Regions from separate parts of the Homo sapiens genome. Here all the other regions are linked to region 1. The links are contacts of gene promoters, found by promoter capture Hi-C in blood cells and fetal thymus (Javierre and others, 2016). All regions are on one chromosome and are shown on one strand. Each heading gives the region's core, a stretch centred on a gene start or on the middle of the fragment in contact. The rest is flanking DNA. Distances are from core to core; before and after follow the strand shown.

Region 1 (3,925 bases), core at 741-3,240:
TTTATTTACTTTACTTTTTGGCACCGAGCCCCCTGAGCATGCCAATACAATATTTGTTTAAACACTATTTTATGCTGCTTGCGAGGGAAACGTTTACTTTCAAATTCTCCTACATCCCCCAGAGCCTCGTCTGCAAACAGCCTATGAGCGTTTTACAACTGCTCCCTTTATCTGAAGCTGTCGGGATTAAACCTTCACACGCCCGGCAAGAGCGGCGGAGAGGGGGCCCGGGACACCGCTGCGGCCACCGAGCTGCAAAGCCCGTGCCAGAGGTCGCGCACCGAGCGGGATGCCCGGGCTGGGGGACAGAGGGACGCCTACAAGACTCCCAGGGCGCGGGACCAGACAGTAGGGACAGGTCTACTTTTCCAGCTGGGATCAACTCTAGGAGCCACAGAACAATTACACAAAAGAGAAGGTAGTGGAAAGAGGCACCCTCGGGGGGGCTCGAGGTCCCCGAGAGCCTCAGCGACCGATCACCCAGGGTGAGGCGCACGGGCTCCATCCCCAGCTCCCCGCGCGGTAAAAGTCGGGTTTCCTAGGAAATGACAGCAGTTACCGCCGGGCTGAAAAGGCGCCGAGCTGGGTGGACTCCCAGCTCTCCAGCGCGGCGGGCGCGCTCACACTCACACACGCAAGCACACGCTCCCTCCCAGCTCCCCGCCCCCGCCCCGTCCGGGGAAAAGACTCCCCTCTCTAAACCCTTAATAGGATTGGCGCCCAACTCTCTCCGCGCCTCTCCCCATCCATCACATACAGATCAAGTTGCAGTAGTGGATTTTTCAAATTCCTCAGCAAATATACTTGTTGAGAGATTGTCGGGGGTGGGGAGAGACGATGAGTAGGGGGGCAGGGATGAAAGTGAGGTGGAAGGGGGAACCGGAGGACCCGGCAAAGGATTACGTGCGGATCCCTTTGGGAAGTCAAGCGGATCTCAGGGCCGAGGGCAGGAGAGGAGGAGAAGAGAGGCAAAGAGGGGGGGCCGAGGAGGAGAGCCCAGCAGAGGGGGAGGGGGCGGCCGGGCCGGGCGAGGGGGAGGAAGGATTGAGGAAGGAAGAAAGAAAGGCAGGGCTCCGGGACGCGCAGCGCGGAGAAGTGGAGTTCGAAGTTCTCAAGTGGCTGGCTGCAGCCCCTCCGCGCTCAGTACGCCCGCAGACACGCTCCCATGCCCACCTACGGCAGCTTCGGAGCATCCCAGCCTCCGATCCCACCCTCCACCCCCTGAAAAAACAGACCCCCGCCGGCGCGCGGAGGCCGGCTCGCTGTGCACCCCGAGAAGAGTGGTGCTCTCCCCCAGGTAGGGAGAGGGTGCAACATCGACCTCTGGCCACGAGCTCCAAGCCCCAGGACTCTCCTTACGTCCCCGCCCTGCTCGTCCAGAGCCCCAGGCGGGGTCGCGCCTACTAGCCTCTAGTCCCCCGAAGCCCAGGGCCCCGATCCCAAGGCCTAGGCGCCGGTACCCGGCCGAGGGACCCCCCGAGACGGCGCAGCATCCCAGTCGGCCCGCGCTTGGCCGAGGTGGGAGGCGCTTCGTCACGAAAAGCAAGCAAAAGAAGGCCAATGCAACTTTACCGAGAGAGACAAAAGTTTGCCTCTAGCACGCAGGTGGCCTCTCGGGCGCCGGGCGGTGGCTGTGGGCCCCCATCCCACCTTGGCTGGCGCGGCGACCCTCGGCTGGCTGCCTTGTGCCGGGGCTCCAGCCAGCCGGGGCGGGGCGGGCCAGGCAAGAGAGGGGACCGAGAGGCGGGCGGGCGCCGCGCAGCCCCTACCGCCGGCGAGCAGGCGGCTCCCCGAGGCTGCGGCGCGCCGCGCGGCCCAAGCTCTTTCCTCCGGCTCCTCCTGCGGCTCCTGGCCTTCCTCCGCGTTCGCAGTCGCAGCCGCCGCCGCCGCCCGCTCCTCCTCGAAGTCTCATTGATGGGAGTTTGAAAAAAAGTCCGCGGAGCCGTGCTGCCTCGGCTGGCAAGCGCCGGCACTTCTGCAATCCATCAGCGCCGCCGGACTGCGCAGCGCCCCCGCGCGCACGGTGCGGGCACACCCGGGCCCCAAGAACCCGCCAGCCAGCCCGCCCGCTCCCTGCCGGGGGACGCAGGGGGACCCGAACGCCGCCGGGGCGGGGGGAGGGGAAAGGGGGAGCACAGGGACTCTCCCCACCCAGCACCAAGGAAAGAAAACGCACCTACAAGGAAAGTTCGAGAAAGGAACCAAAGGACGCGCCAATCTCCGACACTTTTTTTAGACGACTAGGTGTGGGGGGGGGGGTTGGGGGTGTCGCTAACTCAAGTCAGATGAGCTCCGGAGCTGAGGGGCAAGGGCTGCTCTGTTTTCAATCTCTGAAATCCCCCCGCCCTCCCCACCTCCCACTTCCCTCCTCGGGGAGATGCCTGGGTCGCTGTTCCCAGGGCGCCCGCTTCTCTGGACGCCCGCGCGGAAGCCGGGGACGCCAGAGAAGGGACGCGGGGGCTGGGTCCACGCGGACCCTCTTCCCGCGGGCAGCGAGCGCAGGTGCCGGGGGTCCTGAGGCGTCCCCCGCCGCCGCTAGCCCTCGTCGCCATCTGAGCACACGCTGGCGAGAAACGAAGCAGCCTTCTAGGTTTGGTGCATGTGGCTTGCAGGGTGGGTTTTTGTTTTGTTGTGTTGTGTGTTTTAGAGACTCCACTCGAGCCGCTGAAGCCAGATGGAAGTAATCAGAACCCAACAACAACAGAGAAAGAAGGAAGAAAAAACTCCTCATTGAATTTTCTAGCCAAAGTGTATATGGGGCTGTGTGTGAAAGAACTTGCTTAAGCAAGCTCAGTGAGGAGCCCTGGGCCCTCAAGCCACACCACAGCCCGGAACTGGGCCGCCAGGCTTGGAGGAGAATTGGGGGCAGCTGGCTAAAGTGTCCTCCCCACACCCCCGGGCCTGCCACCCTCTCCAGGGCCCCTGGGCCTCACCCGAAGAGGGTCTTGGGGGGAATTTCTGGTTTTATTCTTCCTAACGTTTGTAGAACACTCTACCAAGTGCCAGGTGATGTTATATTTTCTTTGTATTATTGGACTTTCACAGCTCTGTAAGGAAGGTTCTCTTCTCGTGTTTTTACAGGTGGGAAGTCTGATGCTTTAAAAAGTTAAGTAACTAGTCTAAGGTCAGAGCACTCTGCCATCCTCCCAGAGCTTCGGGTGGTTGTACTGTAAGTTCAGTTAAATTTGCCCTGTTGGGCCGGGCGCGGTGGCTCACGCTTGTAATCCTAGCACTTTGGGAGGCCGAGGCACGGGGATCACCTGAGGTCAGGAGTTCAAGACCAGCCTGGCCAACATGGTGAAACCCCGTCTCTACTAAAAATACAAAAAATTAGCCAGGGATAGTAGCGCGCGCCTGTAATCCCGGCTACTTGGGAGACTGAGGCTGGAGAATCTCTCAAACCCCTTGGGAGATGGAGGTTGCAGTGAGCCATGATGGCGCCACTGCACTCCAGCCTGGGTGATGGAGCGAGACTCTGTCTCAAAAAAATAAATTAATTAAATTAAATTTTTAAAAAATTGCCCTGTTGAGGTGGGTGGAAGTGTCTCTCCCTTCAGCCCCTGTTCCTAAAATTGCATTTTATTTGAAATGCAAGGGACCCAATGCTACCCTCCCTGAGGGGATGTGACCTACACAGGCCCATTTCACCGGTGCAACCCTTTTTGTGGGTGGCTCTCTCCATATACCTTTTATCCTCTGCTAACTTTATTCTTTTACTTTTTAATCAAAGAGGATGCATTAGAACTTCATTCCTTAAGATCCTCCTTCCTCCTCCTGACATTCACTTATATGATGGAGCAACAATTTCTTCTTGACCTAGAGAAAAAAATATGCAGAAAAATATTAGAACAATTTGATGCTAATTTTGTTTGGGGGGAAAAGGTCGGCAGCATTTTTAAAAAGCGAAACTTGCATAAGCCAATGA
Region 2 (3,925 bases), core at 429-2,928, 360 kb before region 1:
GCTCACAGCCATTCAACAGGTCTGAGAAGCAAGGCTTAGAGAGTGAAGGGCTCTGTCACCCGGCCTCAGACTGGTTCCCCAGGCTGAGCTGGACCCACGCCACCTCTCCACTCAATGAGCATGCCACTGTGCCCAGACAGAGCTCAGGGGCTACACCTGCACTCCAGGGTCTCTGACACATGAAGCTGTCTGCCCCCTCCAGCCCCCGCATCGAGCATTGACCTTCACGGGGGGCAGCCCCAGGAAGGTTAGGGACACTTCCAGACGTCTCATTTCATCCTCAAATGTCCCCTCACCCTTAGTCAGGCAGGACAAGCCTTGAAGGTGCCCCATCTTCCAGGCAGCCCTCCCAGTCCAGCAGCCTGGCTTCTGGGGCCACCACCAGGGTCGGACTTACAAAGGCTTGGGCAGTGCATCCCACATCCCACTGTCCCTGCTGTCTGCAGCCTGCCTCTCCACACTGAGCACTGAGGCTACCAGAAAAAGAAGCCATTTGAACTCCAGGAGCTCCTGGGAAATCCAGCAGAGATGCGCATTTTCGTCCGTGCACTGCCGCCTGCTGGCCAGCAGGTGTTGAATTGTGGAGAGGCTGGAGGGAGGACGGACGGTCGAGGCTGTGGAAGGTTCACCTTCCAGCTCCGCCTCTCCTACGCTCGGGACTAGGGCCCAGTCCCTGGGGGTGTGACTGACCTACCACATTTCCCCTCTGCTCCTCCTGTCAAATCCATCTCGCATGCTGTGACTTTGTTTTTGAAAAGACTGTTAAAATAACTCACATGGAGGTGTTGTGACTGATGATGACTTTAATTTTATCCTTTACCCAGCCCCTCTGAGAAAAAAACAATTTGGAATCTAATTAGGATGATGTTTACCTCCAGATAAATGACTCTGTAATTGTGGAGTTTCAGGCTGTGCACTGAAACTGTGTTTTGGACAGGCAGGGCTCTTCCTAAGCATCCCGGGATCTCTGACTTGCCCTGAGTATAGAGGTGAGTCAGTGGGGCACATATCGTACCTGTCACCGCAGGATGTCATAACAGAATAGAATATTAGAGTTGGCAGTGGCCTTAGAGATCCAGCTATTGCACAGATGAATCCAAGAGGGGGAAAGGCTTTGCCCACAGGGAACAAACTGGAAACAGAATCTCTTCCCAAAAGGCTTAGGGTGAGGAAAATTCCTGGCTGATGGACGTTCTGAGAATTTTTTTTTTTTTTTTAGACGGAGTCTTGCTCTGTCGCCCAGGCTGGAGTGCAGTGGTGCGATCTCGGCTCACTGCAACCTCTACCTCCCGGGTTCAAGCGATTCTCCTGTCTCAGCCTCCTGAGTAGCTGAGATTATAGGCACGCGCCACCACCCCCTGCTTATTTTTGTATTTTTAGTAGAGACGGGGTTTCACCATGTTGGTCAGGCTTGTCTCAAACTCCTGACCTCGTGATCCGCCCAACTTGGCCTCTGAAAGTGCTGAGATTACAGGTGTGAGCCACTGTGCCTGGCCCATTCTGAGAATTTTAAGGGGAAGCATGATATTGAAATCCCAGAGAACAGCCTTGTGCCCCCCACCCCAACCCCATTATCCCCTATTCCCTCTCAAGGATACGGGCTGGGCAGAGGGAGGCATCATTTGGGCAGAGGGAGCACTCTTGCCTCCTCCAGCTCAGTGTCTGTTCTTCCATCCATATCTGCCTGCGGGACATGATCCAGCTCACGGCTCTTCTCCAGAAGGGCAGGAGAGGAATTCTGACTCATTTCCCATCTCTTTATCTTTCTGAGCTACATTTATGGATGATTCTCTCAACTTTTTTTTTTCAATTTATGAATTCCTTTGCAAATGTGCCTAATCTGATGTTTATGCCATTTTTTACTTTAAAAAAGTTTAATAATTATATATTTCATTTTGAGATGTATTTGGTGTCAAATCTGTTAGGTCATCTTGGATACTTTTATGTTCCCTGCATGTGTGTTTAATTTCCCCTTTTACTCCCATAAACATTGAAAACATGACTTTGAATCCTGTTCCTGATAATCCCATAATGTGACATCTTTGGTGGTCTAATTCTGACATCTGCTGCTCCTGCTGACACTTGCTCATGATGGATTGTTTCTCTTGTGCAGGCTCAATTTTTATGGTGAACTCATGTTTTGCAGATCTCAGTCTGTGGGAATCCTGACAGGCCTAGGCTGAGGGTTAGTCCTCTGGAGAGATCTGTCAGGAGGCCTGGAGTGCTTGTTTCCATCTTGGAAACATATTAAAATATTTCTCAGCTTGGATATTCTTCAGGGAGTGTAAATCCAGACCCGAAATCCACGTGAGGATGGCCTTTACATTTTCAGGGGGAAGGAAGAGTGAAATATCTCTCTTCTTTTTCCTCTTCCTTCTCTTCCCCCTTCTCCTCCTCCTCCTCCTTCTCTCTTTCTCTTTTTTTAACCCAAAGCTGAAGCCAGGATAGACACACTTTCTTGTTAGCTTCTTTTTCTATGTCACCTTTTTACCAAGAGTTAGCTCTTCAAGGATTCTAGCTTTTCCAAGAGTCTAAGTCCTGACACTCCATCTTGCCTGCATGGGCCCAGGGCCCTGCCTTCTCTCTTTTGTATGGCTGTTAAAACCAGTGACTATAGGTTTCAGATATTTCCAGGTGCTTCTAGGGCAGCCCACAGCATCAGGGGTCATTTCTCATTCTGGTTTCAGCCTCTTCTTCGGTTTTGGCCTTTGTGAGTTTCCTTACTTTCTTATACAATCAGGTAGTCATTTAAAAGATGTTTGTTTAGTTTCAATCAACAGGTCTAGGTATTTGTAGTGGAGTTTATTTTTTCCCCAGAACATCTAGCCTAGAAGTGGAAGTCCTAATTTTATATTTAAATATTCAGATGTTTGCCACATGTGAAGAGTTTAACCAACTGTGAAGTTGGAGGGAACACAGCCCACACAGAAAACCGTGCTCACTTCCAACACCAATTACAAGTTTTAGGGGTTCCCAAGACCACCTCTTCTGATACCAATTGCAAAGTTGGAAAGACTAGTTCCCCCAACCACTCTCAGTTTTGATAACTTGCTAGAAAGACTCACAGAGCTAACTGGAAGCTGTTAGACTCATCCTTTTTTTTTTTTTTTTTGAGATGGAGTCTCGCTCTGTCACCCAGGCTAGAGTGCAGTGGTGCGATCTCGGCTCACTGTAACCTCTCTGCCTCCTGGGTTCAAGTGATTCTTCTGCCTCAGCCTCCCAAGTAGCTGGGACTACAGGTGCATGCCACCACACCCAGCTAATTTTTGTATTTTTAGTAGAGACAGGGTTTCACCATATTGGCCAGGCTGGTCTCGAACTCCTGACCTCACGATCCACCCACCTCAGCTTCCCAAAGTGCTGGGATTACAGGTGTGAGCCGCCACACCCAGCAAGACTCATCTTATACTTCTGGGTGCAGATGAGCATCAGCCAAGGGAGGATGCCCACAGGGGGTGTCTGGGGACTACCCCATGCACAGCTGCTGTGGTCCTCCCTGTTGGGTCAGCCTCCTGTTCCCAGCATCCATGTGTAGCAGAACATAGGAGTGCTGGCAACCAGGGAGGCTCACATGAGCCTCAGTGTCCAGAGTTTTTCTTGGGCCTCATTGAGTAAGCATGGCAGATGGTGCACAGGCTGGTCTCCATCTCTAGCCTGCAGCCCCTCTGGGAGTGACTCAAAGCCACCACCTTACATTGTTGGACTTTCCGGTTTGACCAGTCCCTACCCGCAATCACATTGTTAGCTATTCAATGTGACCCACAGCAAACAAAGACACTCCTATCAGGCCTGATAGTCTTAGAGCTTAGGGATTCCCTCCCACAAGCTGAAAGCAAAAGCCAGACCTCTTTTTGGACAAGGTGAAATTATTTACTACATATCACAGGAGTTTTTTTGCTTTTTTTATTTGGTTGGCTTTTGTTTT
Region 3 (3,925 bases), core at 591-3,090, 320 kb before region 1:
ATAAGGAGACCAATGGCTCAAGAGACAGACTCAGACCCAGGCCCATCAGCCTGCCAAGGCCAGGCACTTCCCCCGGCACACTGTGCTGGCCTGCGGTGTTGGAAGGGGATGCCCAGAGTCTCTGGTCCAGGCCTTCTGGTACCCAGACCTCTGCAGGCCTCCACAGTGAGGCACTTGGTACTCAGGTCCTCCAGGCCACTGTCAGGGCTGGGCAGGCACCTGGTCACCATCAGAGAAAGAGCTGGGAGCCAGGGGTCCCCTCAGGCACTTCCATAGCACCCTATTAAATGCTTCCGGGAGGGAATCTCATTTTGGACTTTGGACACACACTAGCTGTGTGACCTTGGCCAAGCCACTTAACCTTCCTGAGCCTCCACTTCCTGACCTGCAAAAAGAGTATAATAATAGCTGCTAGCCTTCAGCATTATGGGGAGAATTAGACATAAGAATGTATTTTCTGTTCCAAAAGGCTGGTCGAGGCAGGGTCCCCCTCTGCCGCCCCCCAGCCCTCCCACCTACTGCCCGGCCACTTCCAGCCGCCCAGCCTAGGTTCCTTCCACACAAGATGAAAACAGTCTGGTCTGGAGGCCACCAATGGCATCACTCCCAGCTGCAGCCACCTCTGCCCCAGGAGCCCAGGTGGGTGAAGGGCAGGTGGTGACTTGAAGGGGAAATTGTCCTGCACGTTGTCCTCAGAACCTCGAGGAAGCTGGTGACACACCAGAGTGTGGACATTAATGTAATCGTTGGGTAATTCAATCACTTTATAGAAGTTGATCTGTCCTTTTTATTACAATTACTGTCGGCTGGGGTGTTTCGTTCCATCACTGAAAATAAACATCATTTATCATACTTGTAAAGATTAGCACCCGACAGCTACAGCTCTTGCTTTGCATAAATGTGTATTAATGTTGGCCCTGCCCGCAGTGTGGGGAGAAGTCTATATTTCACAAGACTGATTAGGCCCTGTCACCACTGCTTTAAGTAATGTCTTATCATGACTGATACTCCCCGACTGCAAAACAGGGGCCGGGGGAGGGCGGGGGCTGCTCCAGGCAATTTATGGTGGCACCAGAATGAAAAACAGGCCTGGGAAGGTGGGCATCTGTTTCTTCTGGGCCTGATCCCATCCCCGAAGCTGGGTCTGCGCCTCCTCCCAAGGCCCCTGCCTAACAAGCAAAGGCTGCCCATAGGGGTGTCGGGGCCCAAGAGTTCCACGACCATGGAGGGGCCTCATTCCAGCCTTGCATGTCCTCCTCTGACACCACTGAGGTTCTGTCTCTCCTTTCCTCTGCTGCGGGGAGGCGCGTCTGCCAGGCAGTTATCTGTCAGGAGCCCCTGTTGCGTCGACTGCCCTCCGCTCTGCCATGCCCGCTGTTGGCACCCAGATCGGTCCCAGCCCGGGCCTCTCTCCTGTGCTCAGCCTGGTACCCACAACCTCCTACCTTGCCCATTTGCCCTCCACATACACTCCGGGACTCCATGCCACCATAGGACAGTGACCAAGCTCCTCAGGAGCCAAACAGAATCAGGGTTTTGGGCCCTCCAGGGGCTGCCTCCTGCCACCCTCATCCTGCTGCCAGACCCTCCCTGGCCTCAGCCATACCGGGCTCCTCCACTCTCCTTCGTGCTGCTTAAGCCCACCCTGTGGTTTCACATGTGCGTGCTTCTGGACCCGAGCAGACACCTTCTCCCTGCACCCACCTAAGGAAGCCAGCACCCACCCAGGGTCATGGCTTGGCTCCGGGCCTCCTGTTCCCCACCCCTCCTTGGCCGGGAGAGTCAGTCCCTGTAAGTATTCCAACCAGGAACTTAGGCAGAAATCCTCTTAGTCATCCCCAGGTCCCAGCACCCTGTACAGTGATTGGCACAGGGTGGGTGCTGAATAAATCGTGGCTTCAAACAAAACAAAACAAAACAGTATAAATGATTAAGAACTCATTTTGCTGAAGAGATTCTTTTTTTTTTTTTTTTTTTTTTTGAGATGGAGTCTCCCTCTGTCATCAGGCTGGAGTGCAGTGGCGCAATCTCGGTTCACTGCAACCTCTGCCTCCCGGTTTCAAGCAATTCTCTGCCTCAGCCTCCCAAGTAACTGGGATTACAGGCACCCACCATCACGCCCAGCTCATTTTTGTATTTTTATTAGAGACAGGGTTTCTCCATGTTGGCCAGGCTGGTCTCGAACTCCTGACCTCGTGATCCTCCTGTCTCGGCCTCCCAAAGTGCTGGGATTACAGGTGTGAGCCATCACACCCAACCTCTTCCATCTTTTTAAGAAGGCTGACCTAGATCCCGTAGAGCTAGCCAGAGCTACCCAGTAAGGTAGCCACGAGCCACAAGTGATGATTTACACTTAAATTAACTACAACTAAATGCAATTAAAAGTTCAGTTCCCCAGCCCACTAACAACATTTCTAATGTTCAATAACTCCTGTATTAGACAGCACAGACATAAAGCACTTCCATGGTCCTGGAACATCCTGTGGGTCGGCGCTGTCGGACAGTGTTCCGGGGTGCCTGGAAGGAGTGGGCCGCAGTGTGGTGGGGCTGGAGAAGGGACCCTGGTGGCATATTCCACCTGAGGATGTCAGCAGGCAGATTCAGGTCACTCATGGAGCATGCTCTGAAAGATGTGGGAGGCTGGCCTCAAAGCCAAGTGTCACCTCGAGATTTTGGTGCCCAGATAGGTGCTGGTGTGAATGCCAAGGTTGTTTTGGAGTGACACTGCTGTTACTGTCATGAGCTGACAAAAAAGATAGGATGAAATGACAAAGCCTGGCTGGCGTGTCCAGCAAGGAGAGGCGTGTGCCACGTGAAAGCCGAACACAACGTGGAGCAGGATTTCAGACAGAAACTGTGGAGGAAGGACTGACTTCAGAGGGTCCACGCTCTGCAAGACAGAACATAGGCACAGAACACTGACATTTTCATTGATTTTACGGTTGTACTTGATTACATTTGTAAACTCATCTGGGCTATATAATTCCGTAAGAAAAAATTTATGTCTTGTTTGGTGCTCCCCTATTTTAAAAACATAATAACTGCAATGTAAGATACTTGAATGTTTTTCCTTTAAGGTGTCCATTGCTGAGCAGGCAGAGATTCTTGTCTGTGCTGTCCACCTGCACCCCAGCACCTACTGCAGTGTGTGGTGCATAGTAGATGCTCATTAAATACCTGAGAAATGAGTGTACAGAATCATGAGAGGACAGTTACGTGGATGGTGAATGAAAATCTTGGAAGCACAAAGTAGACATCAAATGGATATTTGCTAGGTGAATAAATCACTGAATGAATGGGCAAATTTATGAACAAATGAATGAATGAATGGCTGTCAGGCAATGGGAGCACAGTTGAGGTAGGTGGGAGCAGGGCTCAGTCAGGCATCTGGCTGCCTCTGGATCTCACCTGGACCTGGAGACCTTGTAGAGTCTGCGGCTGCCTCAGTGTTCCCAACCCCTGCCGGACCTTGCCGTCCCTTTGTGCCATCCTCTCTCCATCCCCACTGGCCTCCTGCTGGCTCCTGCTGGCTCCCGTGGGCTGTTAGGAAGAGTCTGGGCCTGTTCTCCATACTTACGCCACCTTATAGGACAGAGCAGCTGCTCCCCTGCCAGACAGTAGCAAGGGCCTTTACTGAGATGTAATTCACACACCAAGCAATTCATCCCTTTAAAATGTACAACTCCATGGTTTTTAGTGTACGCACAGCTACGTGCAACTATCACCACAGCAAATTTGAGAAGGTTTTCTTCGTTTCAAAAAGAACCCCTATACCCTTTAACTATCGCCTCTATGGAGCCTTTCTCCCCCAACCCCCTGCCTCTGACAACCACTAACCTACTTTCCATCTCTCTAGCTTCCCCTGGCATGGATACTCATGTGAGCAGGGCATATGGCATGCACCCTTTTGTGAGTGGCTTCCTTC

Evidence for each region. Contacts are between HindIII fragments. The CHiCAGO score rates a contact against its expected background, and 5 or more counts as called.
Region 2: a contact is called between a fragment that was not itself captured here and the fragment with the promoter of GLI2 in region 1, in 1 of 17 cell types (erythroblasts). The highest score is 5.5, in erythroblasts.
Region 3: a contact is called between a fragment that was not itself captured here and the fragment with the promoter of GLI2 in region 1, in 5 of 17 cell types (erythroblasts, endothelial precursors, megakaryocytes and 2 more). The highest score is 10.9, in erythroblasts.

Annotation. Positions count from the first base shown.
Region 1 is chr2:120,733,933-120,737,857 of GRCh38, reverse strand. It overlaps GLI2 (GLI family zinc finger 2), which reads right to left and starts at 1,990. Exons shown (of 14, transcript NM_001374353.1): 1 at 1,573-1,990. LOC124906073 (a long non-coding RNA gene) reads right to left here. Exons shown (of 3, transcript XR_007087219.1): 3 at 3,008-3,816. LOC124907881 (a long non-coding RNA gene) reads left to right here and starts at 197. Exons shown (of 2, transcript XR_007087221.1): 1 at 197-1,297. RefSeq lists enhancers at 1-285, 286-786, 1,905-2,074, 2,714-3,361. The HindIII fragment of the contact is 6,148 bases long and covers 1-3,925 here.
Region 2 is chr2:121,092,093-121,096,017 of GRCh38, reverse strand. No RefSeq gene overlaps it. Among named protein-coding and RNA genes, the nearest start is that of TFCP2L1, 190 kb to the left of the region's middle. The HindIII fragment of the contact is 5,076 bases long and covers 1-3,925 here.
Region 3 is chr2:121,056,069-121,059,993 of GRCh38, reverse strand. It overlaps LOC105373587 (a long non-coding RNA gene), which reads right to left. Exons shown (of 4, transcript XR_923267.2): 3 at 3,409-3,607; 4 at 2,210-2,890. Among named protein-coding and RNA genes, the nearest start is that of TFCP2L1, 230 kb to the left of the region's middle. The HindIII fragment of the contact is 5,028 bases long and covers 1-3,925 here.